Regions from separate parts of the Homo sapiens genome. Here all the other regions are linked to region 2. The links are contacts of gene promoters, found by promoter capture Hi-C in human tissues and cell types (Jung and others, 2019). All regions are on one chromosome and are shown on one strand. Each heading gives the region's core, a stretch centred on a gene start or on the middle of the fragment in contact. The rest is flanking DNA. Distances are from core to core; before and after follow the strand shown. Region 1 overlaps GTF3C1 (general transcription factor IIIC subunit 1). Region 2 holds the start of XPO6 (exportin 6). Region 3 overlaps KATNIP (katanin interacting protein).

The links. Contacts are between HindIII fragments. The study calls those that stand out against the background at their distance.
Region 1: a fragment that was not itself captured here is called in contact with the fragment with the promoter of XPO6 in region 2 in 1 of the 25 tissues and cell types used here (dorsolateral prefrontal cortex).
Region 3: a contact is called between a fragment that was not itself captured here and the fragment with the promoter of XPO6 in region 2, in 1 of the 25 tissues and cell types used here (dorsolateral prefrontal cortex).

The regions. Positions count from the first base shown.
Region 1 is chr16:27,543,804-27,547,508 of GRCh38, reverse strand. It overlaps GTF3C1 (general transcription factor IIIC subunit 1), which reads left to right. Exons shown (of 37, transcript NM_001520.4): 2 at 1,986-2,195. Among named protein-coding and RNA genes, the nearest start is that of GTF3C1, 4.3 kb to the left of the region's middle. The HindIII fragment of the contact is 4,315 bases long and covers 1-3,568 here.
Region 2 is chr16:28,210,001-28,213,439 of GRCh38, reverse strand. It overlaps XPO6 (exportin 6), which reads left to right and starts at 1,475. Exons shown (of 24, transcript NM_015171.4): 1 at 1,475-2,074. The coding sequence starts at 2,072. RefSeq lists a silencer at 1,238-1,727 and an enhancer at 1,357-2,355. The HindIII fragment of the contact is 10,699 bases long and covers 1-3,439 here.
Region 3 is chr16:27,669,071-27,672,406 of GRCh38, reverse strand. The region is part of intron 6 of KATNIP (katanin interacting protein); the gene reads right to left. It overlaps LOC107984874 (a long non-coding RNA gene), which reads left to right. Exons shown (of 3, transcript XR_001752113.3): 2 at 1,679-2,032; 3 at 2,723-3,336. Among named protein-coding and RNA genes, the nearest start is that of KATNIP, 120 kb to the right of the region's middle. The HindIII fragment of the contact is 4,430 bases long and covers 1-3,336 here.

The DNA.
Region 1 (3,705 bases), core at 162-2,661, 670 kb after region 2:
TTGGGCACCTGAGCGAACCCTGATTCTCATCTCTGAGGCTGGGAACACGGAAGAACAGCGTGGGGGTTGAGTCTGGGGGAGGTGGGGACTTTGCTGAAGAGACATGTGACACATTTAGCTTCAGGTTCTTTTGAGTTGTCCAAGTGAAGAGTCTTAATTAGTAAACATCTGGCTTCGTGGGAGTGAAAGCAGGCCAGAGGGAGGGACTGAGCTAGACATCTGTGAGTCATTCCTAGCAGCTGGTAATTAAAGCAGCTGGCTAAGATCAGCCCTAAGAGAGAGTGTAGTGTGGTTGGAGGTCTTGAGATATAGCTCTGCAGTGCACCTACATTTCAAGGCTGGATGGAGGGTGAGGGACTTTCAAAAGAAGACTGAGGCGGTGTGGCTGGAGAGGTAGAGGACAGTCAGGTCAGAGTGGTGTTCTGGAAGTTTGGGAGGAGACAGGATCATTTAAGAACGGAGGGTTGGGCTGGGTGTGGTGAATCATGCCTGTAATCCCAGCACTTTGGGAGGCCGAGGCAGGTGGATCATTTGGCCAACATCGTGAAACCCTCTCTCTACTAAAAATACAAAAATTAGCTGGGTGTGGTGGCAGGTGCCTGTGATCCCAGCTACTAGGGAGGCTGAGGCAGGAGAATCGCTTGAACCCAGAAGGTAGAGGTTGCAGTGAGCCGAGATTGCGCCACTGCACTCCAGCCTGGGTGACAAGATCAAAACTCAAGTCTTAAAAAAAAGGAATGGAGGGTTAAATGGTGCAGATAACACAGAGGGGGCAAGGAAGGAAAGGGCTGAAACATGTACATAGGATTTAGCCGCAATTAGACTAGTGTAGGATATGAGTGAGATTTCAAAATAAAACTCGACAAGCAGCCAGGCAAGGTGGCTCACACCTGTAATCCTAGCACTTTGCAAGGCTGAAGTGGGCAGATTACTTGAGCCCGGTAGTTCAAGACCAATCTGGGCAACATAGTGAGGGGAAAAAAAATTATATATATATATATGTATGTATTTTTTTTTTTTTTCAAAAAAAAAAAAACTTGACAAGCTTGGCTAACTGCATGAAAGAAGCACAAATGAAAAATGTCTCCATGGTGTTGTAAGAGGCACATGGAAGAAAGCGGTAGTAAGAGGGGAAAGAAGGGACTTAATTGGAGCTGGGGAGAGGTAATCATATTTGGAATGGGAGGCATTTAATAGACAAGTGAAGACATTGGATCTGTATTTGGAGAAAAAGGACTGAGGATTCAAAGGTGAGACTTGTTAACATGCAGGCGGTAATGCAAACCATGAAAATGGGTTAGGATATTAGAGAGATAACTAAGGAGAGATGGAAAGATGAGATCTTAAAGGGAGGAAAGCTTTGGCCACTTGTGGTGGCTCCCACCTGTAATCTCAGCACTTTGGGAAGCTGAGGCGGGTGGATCACCGAGGTCAGGAGTTCGAGACCACCCTGACCAACATGGTGAACCGTCATCTCTACTAAAAATACAAAATTAGCCGGGCGTGGTGGCACACCCCTATAATCCCAGCTCCTTGGGAGGCTCAGGCAGGAGAATTGCTTGAACCTGGGAAGTGGAGGTTGCAGTGAGCCAAGATCATGCCATTGGACTCTAGCCTGGGCAACAAGAGCAAAACTCCATCTCAAAAAAGCGGAGGAAAGCCTTGAATCATTTCGTCCAACTTGGTGGTTTGGAGACTGAGTACCAGATTTGGAGGGAAACAAAAGCCCATGACTTGGCCAATAAGGAGGTTTAGGTCCCAGCACCCAGCTTCTGGAATAGTCTGGGGAGTCCTGGAAAGGTCTGCGTTCTGTGGGATAGAAAGGCAGGAACCTGCTTGTCAAGATTATCTGCATTTATAAGGCAGGAAAACTGACTGATCTCACTTCTCTCTGATCTCTGCTGGAGGTTGTCAAAAGAACACAGCCAAGCACACATTATATCTGAAGCTGAGTTGGGCTTTGATATTTGTGTTTTTCTCCTTAGGTATGAAGAAATTGATTTGGAAACTGGAATTTTGGAGTCTAGGAGGGACCCGGTGGCTTTGGAGGATGTCTACCCCATTCATATGATCTTAGAGAATAAGGATGGCATCCAGGGCTCATGCCGCTACTTTAAGGAGAGGAAAAACATTACCAATGACATCAGAACCAAGTCCTTGCAGCCTCGCTGTACAATGGTGGAAGCCTTTGACAGGTAACTATTTTGCACCATCAGAAATTCCTGGGAATCTGGCCGGGTACGGTGGCTCACGCCTGTAATCCCAGCACTTTAAGAGGCCGAGGCAGGTGGATCACTTGAGGCCAGGAGTTCAAGACCAGCCTGGCCAACATGGCAAAACGCTGTTTCTACTAAAAATACAAAAATTAGCCGGGTGTGGTGGCACATGCCCATAATCCCAGCTACTGTAGTGGCTGAGGCATGAGAATCACTTGAACCCAGAAAGCAGAGGCAGGCTGCAGTGAGCCGAGGTCATGCCACTGCACTTCAGCCTAGGCAACAGAGTCAGACCCTGTCTACAAAAAAAAAAAAAAAGGAAAAAAGAAATTCCTGGGAATCTGAGTGCTTTGAATGTGTAGTCAGAGCACTTGGATCTGGCCCACAACCTTGGAGTCTGTCAGAGTTCACTAGCCCTGCACTACGCCAGTTCTTGGCCTTCATTCGCCTTCTTCACTGGGGTCACGGGTCCTGCCTTTCTCTTTCCTTTGTGCTCACAGTCCTTGAGCACTTGAATGGTGCCCTTTCTCTCTTCCTACCTGGGCCCTGTGCTGCCAAGCCATTCTCTTGTGAATCCTCAGTCAGTATCCCAATTCCCCAGAGTGTCTAATCCAAATGATCATTTTTTTTCAAGCACCTAACTCCATTCCTGCCTTCCTTCCTACTTTACAGGGCAATGTGAACTCTGCTAACTTCCACCTTCTTTCTTGACTTGCAGACTTTTCCACATTTCTTCCCTGTCTACTCTCATCTCGGAGGAGGTGAGAAATGGTGGCCCTGTCTAAGGCTGTGATCTGGATGCATCCCTTCCTCCTCCTCCCCTCCCCCAGCCCAGCTCCCTCTACCCCTGCTCTTTTCCACCTCTCAGTTAGCTCATCTTTCTCCTTGATTTTCTTTTTCTTTTTTTTGAGACAGAGTCTCACTCTGTTGCCCAGGCTGGAGTACAGTGGTGTGATCACAGCTTATTGCAGCCTTGACCTCCTGGGCTCAGGTGATCTTCCCACCTTCCACCTGAGTAGCTGGGACCACAGGCGCATACCACCACACCCAGCTAAGTTTTATTTTTTGTAGAGGTGGGGTCTTGCCATGTTGCTCAGGCTGGTCTCAAACTTCTGGGCTCAAGCAATCCTCCTATCCCAGCCTCCTAAATTGCTGGGATTACAAGTGTGAGCAACGGCCCCCTGTCTGTCCTTGATTTCTACTGAAGCTTTCCCTTCAGCACATGAACACAGTTCACCCATCTCGCAGCAGAACCTTCTCTTGACCTCAAATCCCTTGTAACTGGCTGTTTCTTTGACTCTGCACCCACGCTTCTTAGATGAATCACCCCCATTCACTGTTTCTCCCTCTTCACCTCCCCTTCACTCCTTTGCCCACTGCAATCCTGATTCCTGACTTTATCACTTCACAGTTTTATCCTCTAAGATCCCATGGGGCCATGAACACTGTTAGGACCCTAATCTCCTTGACCCTGCTACACTGTTAAGGA
Region 2 (3,439 bases), core at 226-2,725:
GGCAATAGCTTATGTTATTTTTTCCCCCTTTCTCATCATTCCTATTCAACCTTATGTTATGCCTCTTTTTTCCTTAGAAACCCACTTGAAGCCAGGCGGGAGGGCTCACGCCTGTAATCCCAGCACTTTGGGAGGCCGAGGCTGGCGGATCACCTGAGGTCGGGAGTTCAAGACCAGCCTGGCCACTATGGTGAAACTCCGTTTCTACTAAAAATAAAAAAAATAGCCGGGCATCATGGTGGGTGCCTGTAGTCCCAGCTACTCGAGAGGCTGAGGCAGGATAATCGTTTGAACCCGGGAGGCGGAAGTTGCAGTGAGCTGAGATTGCACCATTGCACTCCAGCCTGGGCGACAAAGCGAGACTCCGTCTCAAACAACAACAACAACAAACTACACTCTAGTCTGGGCGACAGAGCAAGACCCTGTCTTAAAAACAAACAAACAAACAAGGAAACCCCATTTGTAACTGCCACTAATTGGACTATACTTCTGGTGGGCCATCTTCAAGCTTCGGGCTTGAATAAACCCTATACTTAAATACTATTTTCTCAATCTCGTTATTTAAGGTTGACAAGGGCCATTGGGTTACATAGATTTGCTCCAATCTATGTAGTAGGCACACCCGCGGGCTCAACCTCAGCTGTTTGGGATAGTTTCCTGACTGTTTCTTAAAATTAGCACTTTCAGCCTGGCTGGATGACTCATACCTGTAATCCCAGCACTTTGGAAGGCTGAGGCAGGAAAGCTGCTTGAGCCCAGGAGTTCCAGACCAGCCCAAGCATCAAAAGGAGGCCTCACCTCTGCAAAAAATAAAAAAATTTAGCTGGGCATGGTGGCGCACCAGGAGGTTGAGGCTGCAGTGAGCCATGATTGTGTTACCGCACTCCAGCCTGGGCAACAGAGCAAGAACCTGTCCCCAAAAATAAAACAAAATAAAGATGAGCACTTTCACGAGTAAAGTGGATTGGAGGATGGGAACAGGAATCCAACACATTCTCTGCCTCTCTCAGCACCTTGGCTATCGAAGTTACGTTTATCTCCCCTGTCCTAGCATCCACAGCAGGGCCTGGAATATAGTCGGGCAAGAGTGTGTGGACTGCATGAATGTAAGCTCCATAGGGCCGCGTGTCGTCACGCTGCCAGCTCGATGCTCCGCCCGTAAAAGGCACTCACTAAAATTTTAGCGGAATGAATGGGCGAAAAAAGCGAAAGGGAAACCACGCCTTTACTAAAATGGCAGCCCGGGCTCCCTTTACCAAGATGGCTGCCGGCCCGCGTGGACGCACGGGCGGTGGGCGCAGGGGGCGGGGCAAGAGAGGGCGTGGTAAGAAGGCGGGGCCAGTGGGAGCCGTCAGGTGCAGCCCCGCCCTCCGCCCTCCGCCCGCTCCCCCCGCTCGCCCCGCTCGATTCCGGATTGGTCCGGTTCCAGCGCCGCAGCCCGGCGGCCGCGCTGTGGGGCCGCCCGGCGCTCGCCACTTCCGGCGCGTTGGGGCTGTTGGTCGGGGGCGGCCGCGCGGTACTAGCGGGCGGCTCCAGGGCGGGCGCGCGCAAGGATGCTCTAGGGGGCGGCGGCAGTGGCCGTGTGGGTTGAGGCTGCGAGGACAGCGCGGGCCCCCGGGCCTCTCCCCTGAGCCGGCCGCCTGGGCCGCGCGGTCGAGGCCTGTCAGCCTCCGCCCGTTCAGCCTCGGGGCCGGGGCCGCCGCCACCTCTGCCCGCGGAGGCCGGGGAGCCCCTGCCTGGGCCCGCAGCCTCCCCCGCGGGGGTCGGGCCCGGGCGGGGGTCCCGAGCAGCTGCCCTCCTCGCCGGCATCCGAGCCTCATTTCCTGCTTTTTCAGTTTCCTTGGGGAGGGGCGGGTGGGTCTGGATGAATTGTCTCGGGGTCCCCCGATGAGGCGACCCGGGCGGCCCTGCCCTTTTTAGAGGGTCCCCTCGGGGCCCGGTGGGGAAGGGGTTGTCTTTGCATGGGTGGGGGACTTCCCGAGTCTGCCGGGACCATGACCTGAACTGTGCGAGCGGGACGTGTCCGAAGCCCAAGAACCAGCTCATCTGAGCCGCCCCCTCCCCGGCCAGCATGGTAAGTGGAATTGGAGCCCCCTTCCCTCCTGGGGTGCCCTACCGGAAGGGTGGGAATGGGCCCCGGGGCTGCTGAGCCATCGCTGCTCTCCCCATGGCGGGGAGAGGCGCGTGCGGAGCCTGGCCGGTGACACATGCGTGCAGAGTGTGCAGCCCCGGCCCTGCGCTCCCATCCCCCCAGGGATGATGGCTCAGGCCTGGGAGGGCCCTGGGAGCGCAGCAGGCACAACCCTTGCATCTGGTGTTTGCCTCCTGCAGCTCCTCCGGATAATAACTATCGTTTATTGAGGGCTTACTACTTGCCAAGGCCCTGCGCGAAGTGATTGACAGTGCAGTAGTATTTAATGATCACACCAGCCCTCTGTTCGGAAGTGGGGAGACTGAGGCACGGAGCAATTAATTCCCCAGCTCAAGGTCAAGCGACTTTTTAACAGTGTTAAGATTTGAACCTAGGCATCTGACTTTGAACCTAGGCATCTCTAATACACTTAGAGAGCTGGGTGATTGTAGGAGAAACATCTCATCTAGCTGTAGGTTTATATATGAGGAAACAGAGCGATTTACAGAGGTCACTTGCACAGGTGATGGCAAAGTCAGGAATGGTCGTGATCTTTTGACACTGAGGCTGCTATTCTACATGCTCTGATCTCTGCTGAAGCTACCTTCCACGTTTTCTAGACCGATACTTTCAATACTCCCCTAAATGTGTGTACTCACATCTCTTTGTGTATCCACATCTCCACGTTTTCTAGACCGATACTTTCAATACTCCCCTAAATGTGTGTACCCACATCTCTTTGTTAAGCATTTGCCTTTTTGCTCTTGTAATTATTTCTGAGCCTTATCTGTCTATTGCGGTATACACAGCTCCTTCAAAGACCAAATTGTTTGAACCCTTATCTGCTCCAGCTCCTGGCACATAGTAAGCCCTTGGTAAGTACTGGATCACCTAGCCTGTGGTTGAGCACCTCGAGGAGTGGAGCTGTTCTCCTCAGTTTCACCCATTTTACCCCTGCCAAGTTAGTGGTATAATAGAGAAAGGGACATAGCTGCATCTTTTGTGATACAGACCTTAAGGCCTGTGGAATTTTCGAAACATTCAAGGGGCCTGTGGGTAGTGTGTAGGTCCTGAGATATGGAGCTTACAACCAGCTGGGTAAAGTACACCATTAATGCTGAGCAGCACCGTACAGTATATGCTATACGTATAGTGTATGTGTTTTATTTTTATTTGTTTTGAGACAGGGTCTTGCTTTGTTTCCTAGGCTGGAGTGCAGTGGCACGTTCATGGCTCACTGCAGCCTCGACCTCCTGGGCTCAAGCAGTCCTCCCACCTTAGCCTCCCAAGTAGCTGGGGCTGCAGGCA
Region 3 (3,336 bases), core at 553-3,052, 540 kb after region 2:
AGGACTGTGAAGAAAGCCCTTGTCTGGATGATGTGACAGGGCGACTGGCTGAGCAAGCCCTGATGAATGGTGGTCAGGGAAGGCTGAGTGATGAAGAGCTACCTGGTAGTGTCTGGGGCACAAGGCTGTCTTGGGGGTAGGAACAGCAGAGACAAAGGCCAGGAGGCAGGAACGGCTGGAAGGCATGTGTTCCCTAGAGGGAGGCAGCAGTCACGGGGGACAGGGCTTTGTGGGCCTCAGGGAAGAGTGTGGATTTTGTTCTATGCCCTATGAGAAGCTGCTGAAGGGTGCTAGGCAGAGATACAATGTTATCTGATTTCTGCTTTTATTTTTTATTAATTTATTTTTTTGAGACGGATTTTTGCTCTTGTTGCCCAGGCTGGAATGCAGTGACACGATCTCGGCTCACTGCAACCTCCGCCTTCCGGGTTCAAGCGATTCTCCTGCCTCAGCTTCCCAAGTAGCTGGGATCACAGGCGCCCGCCACCACACCCGGCTGATTTTTGTATTTTTAGTAGAGACGGGGTTTTACCATGTTGGCCAGGCTGGTCTTGAACTCCCGACTTCAGGTGATCCACCCGCCTCAGCCACCCAAAGTGCTGGGATTACAGGCGCGAGCCACTGCGCCTGGCCTGATTTCTGCTTTTAAAAGATCTCTATGGCTCTTGGATACCAAGTGGATTTTAGGAGGTGGGACAAGGATGGAAACAGGGCTACCAGCTTTGCTGCAGTTGCAGGTGAAAGAGGAAGGTGGCAGCAGAGGTGGGGACAGGGAGGAGGCCTCGAGATCTATTTTGGAGGCAGAGATGACAGACATGACTGACTAGAAATGAATCATATGCATACCCTCTGACCTAGCCCTTCCAGGAATGTATCCTTTAGTCCTAAGTACACAAAGATCGTTGAGGCATCCTTTATAATAGAGAATGGTCCACATGGTTATCAATGAGAGACGGATTAAATATCTAATAGAGCGGGTGTTCACCGAGCCCCAGGCAGCTCTTACAAAGAATGAGGTAGCTCTACTTTTGTACTTCTTTGGGCAGATATCAAGATATACATTTAAGTAAAAAGAAGCGTGTTGAAAAATGTACATATAACACGAACTCAATTTTTAAAATCATTGTTAATTTCTATACATGTAGGTATGCATATATGCATAGAAAAAGTCTGGAAAAATAGGCACCTGACTTTTTATTTTTATTTTTATTTTTGAGATGGAGTCTTGCTCTGTCGCCCAGGCTGGAGTGCAGTGGCGCGATCTCAGCTCACTGCAACCTCTGCCTCCTGGGTTCAAGCGATTCTCCTGCCTCAGCCTCCCGAGTAGCTGGGCTTACAAGCACACACCACCATGCCTGAGTAATTTTTTGTATTTTTAGTAGAGATGGAGTTTCCCCACATTGGCTAGGCTGGTCTTGAACTCTTGACCTCAGGTGATCCACCTGCCGTGGCTTCCCAAAGTGCTTGGATTACAGGTGTGAGCCACTACGCCCGGCCAGCACCCAACTATTAACAATGATCTCTCTGACAGCCTTTCCAGGACTTTCCTTTTCTTCTTTGTTTTTAAAAAAATTATTTAGTATTAGCAGGCATCCAATTTTGTAATTTAAAAAAATGATACGTTTACATTTATGTTTAAATTTTGTCCCTCCTTCTTGCAAATAAATAAATTCCCTAGAGGAGTGGCGGGGAATGGTGGAGTGGAGGACCCTGGACAGCCAGCTGCCTGGAAAAATCATCTCTATCCCTGGAACACATGTGGTTCCCAAAAGCCAATGACAAACAGCAGCACTCGATGCTGGAAGACAACGGAGGAGCATCTGTCTAACTCGAGAATAAAGTATCCAGCCAAGAGGTCCAGACTGGAAAGTAACACACCATCCATCTCAAACAGCCAGAAACCCAGGGAATACAGACGGCATTCATGAGCTCTTCTCAGAAAATATCACCCAGGTGACAAAATCCAGACCAATGAAAGAGGAAATCAAAATAAAGATAGAGGCATGGACAAGCTGTGATCAAAGGTCTAATGGTAAGCGCTGTAGCCACTTAAAGTTTGAATAAATACTAGGCATTTATGCACATTAGGGAGATGGACCAGAATGCAATGCTATAAACCTAAGCCCTTAGCTTAGCTAACAAAAATCAGGAGAGGGCAGGCAATGTGGGTGGCCTAATTTTCCACACCAGAAAGTCAACCCCAAATGCATCTCAAATGGAAACTAGAGTTTTTTAAAAATGGCAACTCTAACCTCTTATTTCCTAATGTATTAAACCGATGGCTATTTTAAGAAATAATATTTCCTGTGATAAAGAAATTTGAATTTCAATAATTCCTCCTGTTTCAATTTGGTTTCTTTTTCTTCTTTTAAATTAATGGAAATTTAAATGCCATGATTGTATTTGCAAAATATATATAGGCCAGGCGCAGTGGCTCATGCCTGTAATCTCGGCACTTTGGGAAGCGGAGGTGGGAAGATTGCTTGAGCCCAGGAATTCGAGACCAGCCTGGGCAACAAAGTGAGACCCCCAACTCTATTTTTAAAAACTTAAAAAATGAAACAAAAAAAAAATTCCCTCTCCCCAAAGAAAATATATATAAAAGAGCAGCCTAGATTCGGTGTGGCTGGCAGCTTCTTCGCAAAGGAAACAAATGCATTTGCTCACACTGGATGAACCTAGACCCTTATAATGCTCACGTGATCTAAACCATCTGTCCTAGGGGCAGAGGGGAGACAAACTAAGGAGCAACATTCCCTGGAGGAAGCCGTTCAAAACCTTTCCATCTGGAAAGATGAGGACCTTGGGCTGGTCGCTTTGAAAGCCAATCTGCCTGTACTTCAAAGAGATACCATGCTGTGGGATCTACCAGGTGCTGTGAAGCCATCATCCAGAAATTTCTCTGAAAAAACATACTTTATAGCTTTGCTTCAAAATCTTGTTATATTTGATTTCAGTGTTCAGTGTTTAAAATGTTAAGTTCAAGCCCTTTCAACAGAAAGCCCTCTGCATGGAGGCCAGGCTGCCAACACCGCAGGTGGAGATCGGATGACAGGGACTGCACACAAATGGGTCTCCTCACTGGGGATCCAGGGAGAAGGTGGAGGGACGGACGCTGATACAAAGACTTAAAGGTAGTTTCTAGAAGAACCACTGACTGAAATGCAGCAGGGGTTTGATGGTCAGTGAATTAATGCCTTCTATGCCTGAGCTTCCTCTTTCTGCTGAACTAGGAAAAGTGACATCAGGCGACCATCAAACATGAAGTTTTTGCAATAATAGTATCAGTAACTGTAACATCAAAAACAATAGCTACTACTTGCTAAGCTTCTGTTA